Linked DNA regions of Homo sapiens: regions 1 and 2 are each linked to region 3. The links are contacts of gene promoters, found by promoter capture Hi-C in blood cells and fetal thymus (Javierre and others, 2016). All regions are on one chromosome and are shown on one strand. Each heading gives the region's core, a stretch centred on a gene start or on the middle of the fragment in contact. The rest is flanking DNA. Distances are from core to core; before and after follow the strand shown. Region 1 has its middle 34 kb from the start of SHCBP1L. Region 2 overlaps SHCBP1L (SHC binding and spindle associated 1 like). Region 3 holds the start of LAMC2 (laminin subunit gamma 2).

Region 1 (3,246 bases), core at 570-3,069, 200 kb before region 3:
GATCTTAAACTCCTGGACTCAAATGATCCTCACACTTTGGCCTCCCAAAGTGCTGAGAATACAGAGGTGAGCAACTGTGCCTGCCTTTAATATTTATTTTAAAGTATATTTTTACTGGATGTAGAAGTCTAGGTTGGCAGGTTTTCCCACCATCATTTTGAAGATACGATTCACTGTTTCATGGCTTTCATTGTTTCTCTTGTGAGTGAGTAGTCAGTCACATTGTTGCTCTACTGCAGGTATCTGAGTTTATTTGACTTCTTTTGTAAAAATTTTTTTTCCCTTTGTGTTTGAGATTCAGCAGTTATACACTGATGTGCTTAGGTGTGATTGTCTTGTATTTATCTTGTTTAAGAGTCTCAATATTTCTTGAACCTGTACAGGGCTCAATTTTTTTTATCAGTTTTGGAAAATCCTCACCCATTATCTCTTTAAATATTGCATCTGCCCATTTTCTCTCTCTTCTCCATCTGCATCTCCACTTATATGTAGGTTAGACATTTTTAGTGAGTCTTATTTGTTTTTTATGCTTGTTTTGGTATTTCCCCTCTTTTATTCTCTCCATCTTCAATCTGTCTCTTTCATCTGACCTATATTTCAACTCATTAATTCTGTCTGCATTTATGTATTCTGTTGTTAAATCCATCCTTTGAATTCTTAATTTCAGGTTTTTTCAGTTCTAGAATTTCCGTTTGATTCTTTATATTTATTTTTAGTTCTTTGCCAAATTTCTCCATCTGAGATTTTCTTTCTATTGTTTTTATCTCTTATTTTGGGCAGACTTTTAGTTCCTATTTTGGTTTTAAAATCAACTGTTGAGGCCGGGCGCAGTGGCTCACGCCTGTAATCCCAGCACTTTGGGAGGCCGAGGCGGGCGGATCACCTGAGATTGGGAGTTCGAGACCATCCTGACCAACATGGAGAAACCTCGTCTCTACTAAAAATACAAAAACATTAGCTGGGCGTGGTGGCACATGCCTGTGATCCCGGCTACTCGGGAGGCTGAGGCAGGGGAATCGCTTGAAACTGGGAGGCGGAGGTTGCGGTGAGCCAAGGTCGCGCCATTGCACTCCAGCCTGGGCAACAAGAGCAAAACTCCGTCTCCAAAACAAACAAACAAACAAAAAAACCAGTTGAATATGGAAAATTGCAGCCTCAAATGCCAGCTCACCTCTCTTGGTTTGTATGTTTGGCTATTTATTATTCTGTGTCAGATATTGTGTATTAAAAATTATGCAAAAAATTAATTTTGAGGCTCTGGATGACATTATCTTTTTCCACAGGTGATCTCCTTCTGCTCCTGACAAACAGGTAAGCTAGGGAAGATCAGTTTAATTTATTCAGGATTTAAGGTTATTCACTGTTTGGCTTCAGCCTTTTTGAGGTCTGGTCTCTTTCTGATCTACTTTTACTTCCAGAATAGAGCCTGTCAGGTCTCATTCAAAAGCCTAGTGCTTACTGGGATTTCTCCTCCTCCTTCTTGGGCCTGGGATTCCAATTTTTGTCTTTCTTTTACCATGAAATAATGAAAACTCTGCTAAGCATTGCACCCTTTGGCTGCTGCTTCCACTTTCAGAAGTGACAAGCACATCAAGGGAAAAAGCAATCCTAAAAATCAATGGCTTTTCTCCTCCTCACAGATCTCAGTCCCGCAAGGTTTTATAGCATTGGAAACTTTCTCTTTAAATCAGTTTGCTTGACCAAGCAATACATTACCACATGTGAGATAAAGCTTTATTTAATGATGCTTTTTTTTTTCCTTAACAGACAGGGTCTCACTTTGTTACCCAAGCTGGAGTACAAAGGTACAATCATACAGTTCACTGCAGCCTCAAACTCCTGGCCTCAAGCTATTCTCCCACCTCAGCCTCCTGAGTAGCTGGGATTACAGGCATAAGCCACTGCTCCAAGCTTTAATGATGCTTAATAGTTAAATATGTTAGCTAACCCAATTTCTACAAGGTACAGTTGAAATTTTTAGTCTCCCCAATAAATGGTCATATAGCTTCTGCTTAAATATTTTCAGGAAGGACAAGTAGTTACACTCAAGCCAGTCCATTCCACTTTGGGATGGCTATAATTATAGTAATGTCTTATTACATTCAACAATAACAACAATAAAACCCACTTATTTTCTCATAAATTTGTTAGTCCTAGTGTTAGCTTCTAAAACAACAGAGAACAAATTATTTTCCCTCTTTTCTAATGCATTCTTTAAAAAATATTAGTGTGGCTGCTGCATTCCTTTTCATTTAAAACAAACAAACAAACAAACTTCTACTGGCTGAATATTAGTAGCTTTTTTTTTTTTAACCTAATCTCTATCAAGCCAGGCCTTCCCCTGGCTATGATGGTGAGTTATTTTTAGACATATATATGGGATTTTATATTTAGAACTACTAACTTTCTTTTTAAAAAATGTAGCTTAATATCTCAGTCTATTGAAATCACTTTAAAACTAGGTTTTTGTCATCCTCATAAACTTTGTGTCATCTTAAAAGTGGCAAACATTCCTCCAAATTCTTAGGGACATTTATAAAGATTGTTGAATATTAAAGTGCCTTGAATAGATTCCTGTGGAAGTTGATGAGAGACTTTTCCAAGCTTGCTCCTCAGCCATTAATCACATGTTTGGGCACATTCTACAGCTAGATTTAAGTCCACCTAAAATTTATTGTCATTCCTATTTTTCAACCATCTTATTCACTAGAATATTTTCTGCGCCAAAGTCCTTAGAGAAAAAATTCTTATGTCTATAGCTTTCCTATAATCAATCAACTTAGCAATGCTATGAAAAAAAGAAATGAGTTTTATGTGCCATGACTTATACTCAATGAACAAATCACACCAGTTAATCCAGGTTTTTGGAAGGTGGGACACACATTTTTAAATGAATATATACAAATAGAATAACATGTAGGCTAAGTAAAAAACTAAGAAAAGACATTATTAGAACTTGGAATTTTATAAATGCTTGTTGAACGTAATAGAAAATTTTACTTACTAGAGTCAACTGAATGATTTATCTAATTCTTTTTATTTACTTTATATCTGCACATATTTTCTCTGTCCAATTCAGTTGTACTCTAATTATATTTCTTTTGCTCCTCATTTCTACTTCCATCCCCAATATCTAGTGTAATACCAGGCACATTATAAGAACTCAATTGTTGGTTAATTCACTTTCTACCAGTGACATCAGTGAAATGCTTTATTCATTCCTTCAGTAAATATTTATTTATTTAT
Region 2 (3,165 bases), core at 640-3,139, 240 kb before region 3:
ATCACGAGTCTATTAAAAGGGGACTGCCTTTTTAGCCTGCAGTGAAGCAGAAAGATGCAGTGTGAGAAGCACATTGAAGATGAAGGAAGAGGGCCACAAGCCACAGAATGCAGGCTGCTTCTAGAGGTTAAAAAAGGCCAGGAAACAGATTCTCCCACACAGCCTCCATAAAGGTATGCAGCCTTGCATACACCTTGATTTTAGCTCAGTTAGGCCCATGTCAGACTTCTGACCTACAGAGTTGTAAGATAATAAATTTGTATTCTTTGAGCCACTGAGTGTGGTAATTTGTTGTGGCAGCAATAGAAAACTAATACAGCATCTAAAGAAAAAGCGATCAGGGGCCCATAGGAATAAATTATTGTGACATCAGAACAAAGAGTATTATATAGCATTATTAATACTTCAACTGAAGTAAGACTAAAGAAGCAGAGTCAGATAAAACAACAATATGAATTGTGCAGCACTATCTTAAGAGGTCCCAAGAGCCATTCTCACTTGTTTTTCTGCCACAAAAGAATTAGAATCTGCCAATATACTGTTTTGCTTTTTCCTCTGTTCTTATGCTTCATCCTGTCTTTCTAACATTTAGAGGACATTACTAGACCCTCACAAATTCTAAAGCAAGGCAGGGACAGATTAAATAATCAATGTATTGCAGGTAAAACCTTAGAAATTGATAGAACTTTAAGGTTACCTAATCCACTGAGTTTCCATGGAACTTTAGAGATCTTGAAAAGTTTTATGGAGTATAGGGGCTATCATGAGGTATGGAGAGAGCTGCTAAGACACCATCATCCATTTCAATCAGAAATGTTCTGCTTTAATGTTAAGCTTCCACATAAAACCTGATTGAAAAAAAACCCACAAACTTATACTAAAAAAAAAAAAGTCATAAAGCCAGATGAAAACCATTTTTATCCAGATGAAAAAAATCCAGAGAAGTTGTGAAAGATCTCGGCAAAGCTACTCAAAGTCTGAAGATGAGCAAACCTCTACAAAACAGAGTACTACTGGCTGGGCATGGTGGCTCTGCCTGTAATCCCAGCACTTTGGGAGACTGAGGTGGGTGGATCACTTGAGGTCGGGGGTTCGAGACCAGCCTGGCCAACATAGTGAAATCCCGTTTTTACTAAAAACACAAAAATTAGCCGGGTGTGGTGGTACACGCCTGCAGTCACAGCTACTCAGGAGGCTGAGGTGGGAGGACTGCTTGAAACCTAGAGGAAGAGGTTGCAGTGAGCTGAGATTGCACCACTGCACTCCAGCCTGGGCAACAGAGTTAGACCTTATCTTGAAAAAAAAAGAAAAAGGAAAAGAAACAGTATTACTGAAATATTAACTAATAGAGTCTTATTGAAAAATTAACTAATCCCAATAATCTTTTACATTCCTTTGTAATCTCTGTGACTGAAAATATGGTATTCTTTTTTTTTTTTTTTTTGAGATGGGGCCTCACTATGTCACCCAGGCTCACTGCAACCTCTGCCTCCCAGGCTCAAGCGATCCTCCCACCTCAGCCTCCTGAGTAGCTGGGACCACAGGTGTGTGCCTGTTTTTCTGGTAGAGATGGGGTTTCACCATGGTGCTCAGGCTGGTCTCTAACTCCTGAGCTCAAGTGATTCACCTACCTTGGCCTCCCAAAGTGTTGGGACTACAGGCGTGAGCCACCACGCCCAGCCGCCATTCTTTATCTGTAAAACTGACACTGACTTTTCCACAGAACACATATTTTTAAATTGTTTTCAAGTAGTATATAATACAACAAGTTACATACATAAGTTTTTCTTGTATCCAAAAATACAGATTTAAACTAACTATCTGGGGTAAGGGTATCATTTGTGGTTATAAATATTAATTTCTATATAAGGATAATTGACCTTTAACAGAATCAAACATGCCACAATGTTTAGCCTACAGGCCTAACAAAGAAAAATCTTATTAGGGCCGGGTGCAGTGACTCATGCCTGTAATCCCAGCACTTTGGGAGGCTGAGTCAGGCAGATCACGAGGCCAGGAGTTCGAGACCAGTCTGGCCAACATGGTGAAACCCCTTCTCTGCTAAAGATCACAAGGTTAGGAGTTCAAGACCAGCCTGGCCAACAGGGTTAAACCCCGTCTCTACCAAAGATACAAAAAATTAGCTGGGCATGGTGGCATGCGCCTGTAATCCCAGCTACTCGGGAGGCTGGGGCAGGAGAATCGCTTGAACCGGGGAGGCAGAGGTTGCAGTAGCCGAGATCACACCACTGCACTCCAGCCTGGGCGACAGGACGAAACTCTGTTTCAAAAGAAAAAAAAAAGAAAAATCTTATCAGATAAAGGCTTGGAAGATATTATACTAGAAGGGTACTTTTTTTTTTTGAGACGGAGTCTCACTCTGTTGCCCAGGCTGGAGTGCAGTGGCATGATCTCAGCTCACTGCAAGCTCCGCCTCCTGGGTTCACACCATTCTCCTGCCTCAGCCTCCCTAAAAAGGGTACTTTTCAAAGGAAAAAAATTTCAAATTTTCCCAGTAGTTTTCTGATCCATTTCTTTTTTTTTCCTCATCTGAACTAAACTTCTTAATTCAGATAAATGAAGATTAAAGGGAAAAGACAGAAAAAGAAGGCCCAAGTTTGTTAAAGACTGAATCACTAATTTTATAAGAAATGCATTTTTGTTATTTTTACATTAGTTGAGCAAAAACTAGGCTAATAAATATTGTCTGATACTACTAGATTCCATTTAATGATAATGGTTTACAGGCACTAATATTCCCCTAACCTTCTTTTTACACTATTAATTTTCTCGGAAACTTAAAACAGAAGTAAAAATGTGTCAACTCTTGTGTATCAATCTCCAAATAATAAAGTCATATTTTAGTCTTTAAAAGAACTGATTCAAAAAGAACAAAGATCAAATAAAATTTATTTACCTCAACCAATATACCAACAAAAGGGATAGAAGCTTCTTCATATTTCACAAAGAATACACTGGGATTAGTCTTCCAGACTCCAAGCCATTTGTCTTTCAACTTTAATTTTTCTGATAGGTATTTACCCATAACTTCATCAGCATCTTCTGCCTAACAAGAGAAAAAATGGATCTACATATAAATATATGAAATTATAGATTTTAAACTAAGTGGTTTTTTTTTTTTTTACTGATTTCTATTTTAAAATG
Region 3 (3,653 bases), core at 577-3,076:
AGGCACCAGCGACTAGAAGGGAAAATTCTAAATACCGTCTCTGTGAACTGAAACCTTAGCTGTAGCTGGAGACTCTGAGTTTTGAGAGAGAAGAATATTTGTGTAATTTGTTTGAATCCTGGGCAGAGTAGAAGAGAATCAAGCCTTGGATGAGAAAGTTGGAGTTTCTTTTCTATTCCTCAGGTTTTATTGCTGGAGATTTTAGAATAGGTGTCAGCCAGTTTGCAGCAACCTGTCTTGCCCCTACCATTCTTGGGTTCTGTATTCAGACCCCAGCTATTCCTAACACCCAGTTCATACTCCACGTTCTGTACAAAGCCATCCCTAGCTATCCCAGTCAGCCCACACTGGTCTCCATGACATGCATGAACCGAAGTTTTTAGAACCTTTGACACTTATGTCTGCCCTGGATGATTTGTTCATTATCTTATGTTGTTGTCATCCACAGAACAATCTGGAGAATATTCATATATTTAGTCAGCAAATAGCTATTTATTGGGGGCCTTTGTAGGCCTCAATGTTGAGAAGAAGGGTTGGTTGTTTTGGACAGATTGTGTATTTATAAAGCTCTAGCAATTTTTAAATCTCTAGCAGGAACCAAAGCCTTCTTGACAGCCACCTCTCTGAATTATTGTCACTAGCCTCCTTAGGAGAAGAGACAATATAGTTTATACCAAGATTTGCAGTTGTCTAGATATTACTCACTTCAGCTAGCACTGTGCTAGTAGATAACATTCAAAGTTGGTCTCAACAAATATTTTCTCTAGTGCCCATGGAGAGTGGCTGAGAAATACACTCTAAGATGTAAAAGAGTTTGGTATCTAGATCCTCTTTCTTATTCATTTCAAGCCAATATTTATTAAGCACCAACTGCAAGCTAGATACTATTATAGTTAGGAATATAAAGTGGGCCAGGGATGGTGTTTATGCCTATAATCCCAGCACTTTGGGAGGCCAAGGCAGGAGGATTACTTGAGGCCAGGAATTCAAGGTCAGCCTGCCCAACACAGCAAGACCTCGTCTCTACAAAAAATTAAAAAATTAGCTGGGTGTGGTGGCATTTGCCTGTAGCCCTAGCTACTCAAGAGGCTGAGGTGGGAGGATTGCTTGAGCCCAGGGGTTGGAGGCTGCAGTGCGCTATGATGGTGCCATTGAAAACAAAAACAAAAACCAACCAACAAACAAAAAAACAAACAAAAAGAAAACGATACTCAGTCTTTATAGGGAGGTTGGCCAGTCAATAGGTTACTTTATGAGTTGCTAACCCTGGTGAGCAGGAAGTTATGTGGACCAGGAGAGAAACCCTTGGTTCAGCCTGGAGAAAGGAGAGGTTGACCCTAAACTGGAGGGTGGAGAGGACCCTGTTGTGACTCTCCGACTGACTTGTCTTCCTTGATGTCCTTTAAGCCGGAGCTGATTCGGGCTGCTGCCTTATTTCTGAGTTAGCGCTCTTAAGATTGGGCCTCCCAGTTTGAGGAAGGGGCGGGCTGCTGTCTACCTCTGTGAATCTGCCCTGGACCACCCCGGGAGAGAAGGAGGGCTCCGGGGAATCTCGCACATTCCAGGCAAAGGCTCCCGGGCCGCAGCCTCTGTGCCACACCCTTGGCCCGGGCCAGGTGTGCGCCCTCCTCGCTGCGAGGGGGAGCGGGCGGCTGCGGGGAGCGATTTTCCAGCCCGGTTTGTGCTCTGTGTGTTTGTCTGCCTCTGGAGGGCTGGGTCCTCCTTATTCACAGGTGAGTCACACCCTGAAACACAGGCTCTCTTCCTGTCAGGACTGAGTCAGGTAGAAGAGTCGATAAAACCACCTGATCAAGGAAAAGGAAGGCACAGCGGAGCGCAGAGTGAGAACCACCAACCGAGGCGCCGGGCAGCGACCCCTGCAGCGGAGACAGAGACTGAGCGGCCCGGCCCCGCCATGCCTGCGCTCTGGCTGGGCTGCTGCCTCTGCTTCTCGCTCCTCCTGCCCGCAGCCCGGGCCACCTCCAGGAGGGAAGGTGAGTCGGCTTCCACAAGGAAACATCTCAGCCCTGGGCTGAGAATCTGCCTTTCTCTGCAGACCGTGATGGCTGAACGTACCTCCGAGGATTCCCACTTTGTCCAGAAACTTGTTAGAGCTCCCTTCTCCTCCCCTATCTGGGGCTCCTCCAGAGACGGATTTTAAATGAGACTAATATATAAAGCTATCTGCTTTTTAAAAATAGTAAGACAATAAGCTGTGACAAAAGAGGGTCTTCCTTACCTTAAAAATGTTCCTTCTTGATGTCTTTTTTCGACCAAGGGGCCGCTATTTAATCAATAATGTGTTGTTATATACGTTCTTTCCCCAGCGTGTGCTTTTATTAAAAGGTTTTGGTGGCAATGTTTCCCATGACTGTGAACACCACAAAGATTGCAAAGGAACCTCTTCAATAATCCTGTAATTGATGTTTCAAATTTCGGATGGAAAAATGAGCCTTAATAGTATTAGCAATACCCTTAACTTTTGCATCACGTTACTTTTCATAGTATTTTCATGTAATATTCATTCAACAGGCACTTACTGGGCACCTGTGTCATATATCATTTGATCTTATCTAGGGCACCTAGTTGGCTGTCATGTGTTAGACGTTAAGTTCATGTAAACAAAACTTTGTGAGAACCTAGCAACTCTTAACTGTAAGCATGTGTCAGCTATGGCAACATTTTATGGGTGTTTTCCTTGTCACTTAGTTCTATGGATATATGCCTGTATAATTGCCCTGATGTTTTATGTTTATATTGCATCCTGCATCTGATGGCGTTTCAATCATTCTTTCAATAGGTCCAAGACCAAGAGCCATTTCCACACAAGTGCATGCATGAATATGAGATAATGCTCACATGCACATGCAATTGTATAAGCCATTCCCAATATTATTGTGCATTCCGGGTGATGCTGGCCTGAATTGGATTTGAGTGGCATGAATAATGTTTGAGCATGTGTTTGAATGCAATGCTACAGTCCTTTTTGTCTAAAAAAGTCTTGGAATTAACTTCCAACCTATCATCTCTGACTACCATTTTCAAAACCATGTATGATTGCCACCAAAAAAAAAAAAAAGGTGGAGATAAGTATGTGAAATAATGAACATATTAATTTGCCTGACTAGAATACTATTTTACTGTGTATATCGAAACATCATGTTGTATACCTTAAATATATATAGTTTTAAAAAGTGATAAATAAAAGGTTCTGAAAATGGTCATGAAGGGTATGTTCTCTTAGGGCTGGGATAAGAAGTCTCAGCCTAATGGAAGACATCCCCAAAGTAAAAATAGTCTCTGAATATTAGAATTTAAAGGGACTGCTTATGGATCAACTACTTGGAATCTCTTGATTTGAAAAATGAGAAAATGAAAATGTGTTTCTCAAGGCCACACAGGCAGAGATGAAACTGGCTCTTGATCCAGGGGCTCTTAGGCTGGAGCTTTTTGAGCCACATTATAAAAGTAATAAAGGAATAAGATACATCTTTTATACATGATAAGTAATCATTTAAGCAATTTTCTTGTTGGCTATAGTTGAGTACATATATGTGTGTTAGCATTAGGGAACAAAAATAAATATATAGGATGCTATCAATGCTATTTTAATAAAATCAGGCTTAAGAGGACAGAGCTAGGATTCTCACTTC

What was found. Contacts are between HindIII fragments. The CHiCAGO score rates a contact against its expected background, and 5 or more counts as called.
Region 1: a contact is called between a fragment that was not itself captured here and the fragment with the promoter of LAMC2 in region 3, in 1 of 17 cell types (M1 macrophages). The highest score is 7.1, in M1 macrophages.
Region 2: a contact is called between a fragment that was not itself captured here and the fragment with the promoter of LAMC2 in region 3, in 2 of 17 cell types (M2 macrophages and megakaryocytes). The highest score is 5.6, in M2 macrophages.

The regions. Positions count from the first base shown.
Region 1 is chr1:182,985,568-182,988,813 of GRCh38, forward strand. No RefSeq gene overlaps it. Among named protein-coding and RNA genes, the nearest start is that of SHCBP1L, 34 kb to the left of the region's middle. The HindIII fragment of the contact is 179 bases long and covers 1,731-1,909 here.
Region 2 is chr1:182,948,401-182,951,565 of GRCh38, forward strand. It overlaps SHCBP1L (SHC binding and spindle associated 1 like), which reads right to left. Exons shown (of 10, transcript NM_030933.4): 2 at 2,918-3,067. Among named protein-coding and RNA genes, the nearest start is that of SHCBP1L, 3.2 kb to the right of the region's middle. The HindIII fragment of the contact is 2,115 bases long and covers 833-2,947 here.
Region 3 is chr1:183,184,438-183,188,090 of GRCh38, forward strand. LAMC2 (laminin subunit gamma 2) reads left to right here and starts at 1,827. Exons shown (of 23, transcript NM_005562.3): 1 at 1,827-1,994. The coding sequence starts at 1,916. RefSeq lists enhancers at 1,112-1,694, 1,197-2,396 and a silencer at 1,801-1,870. The HindIII fragment of the contact is 12,597 bases long and covers 1-3,653 here.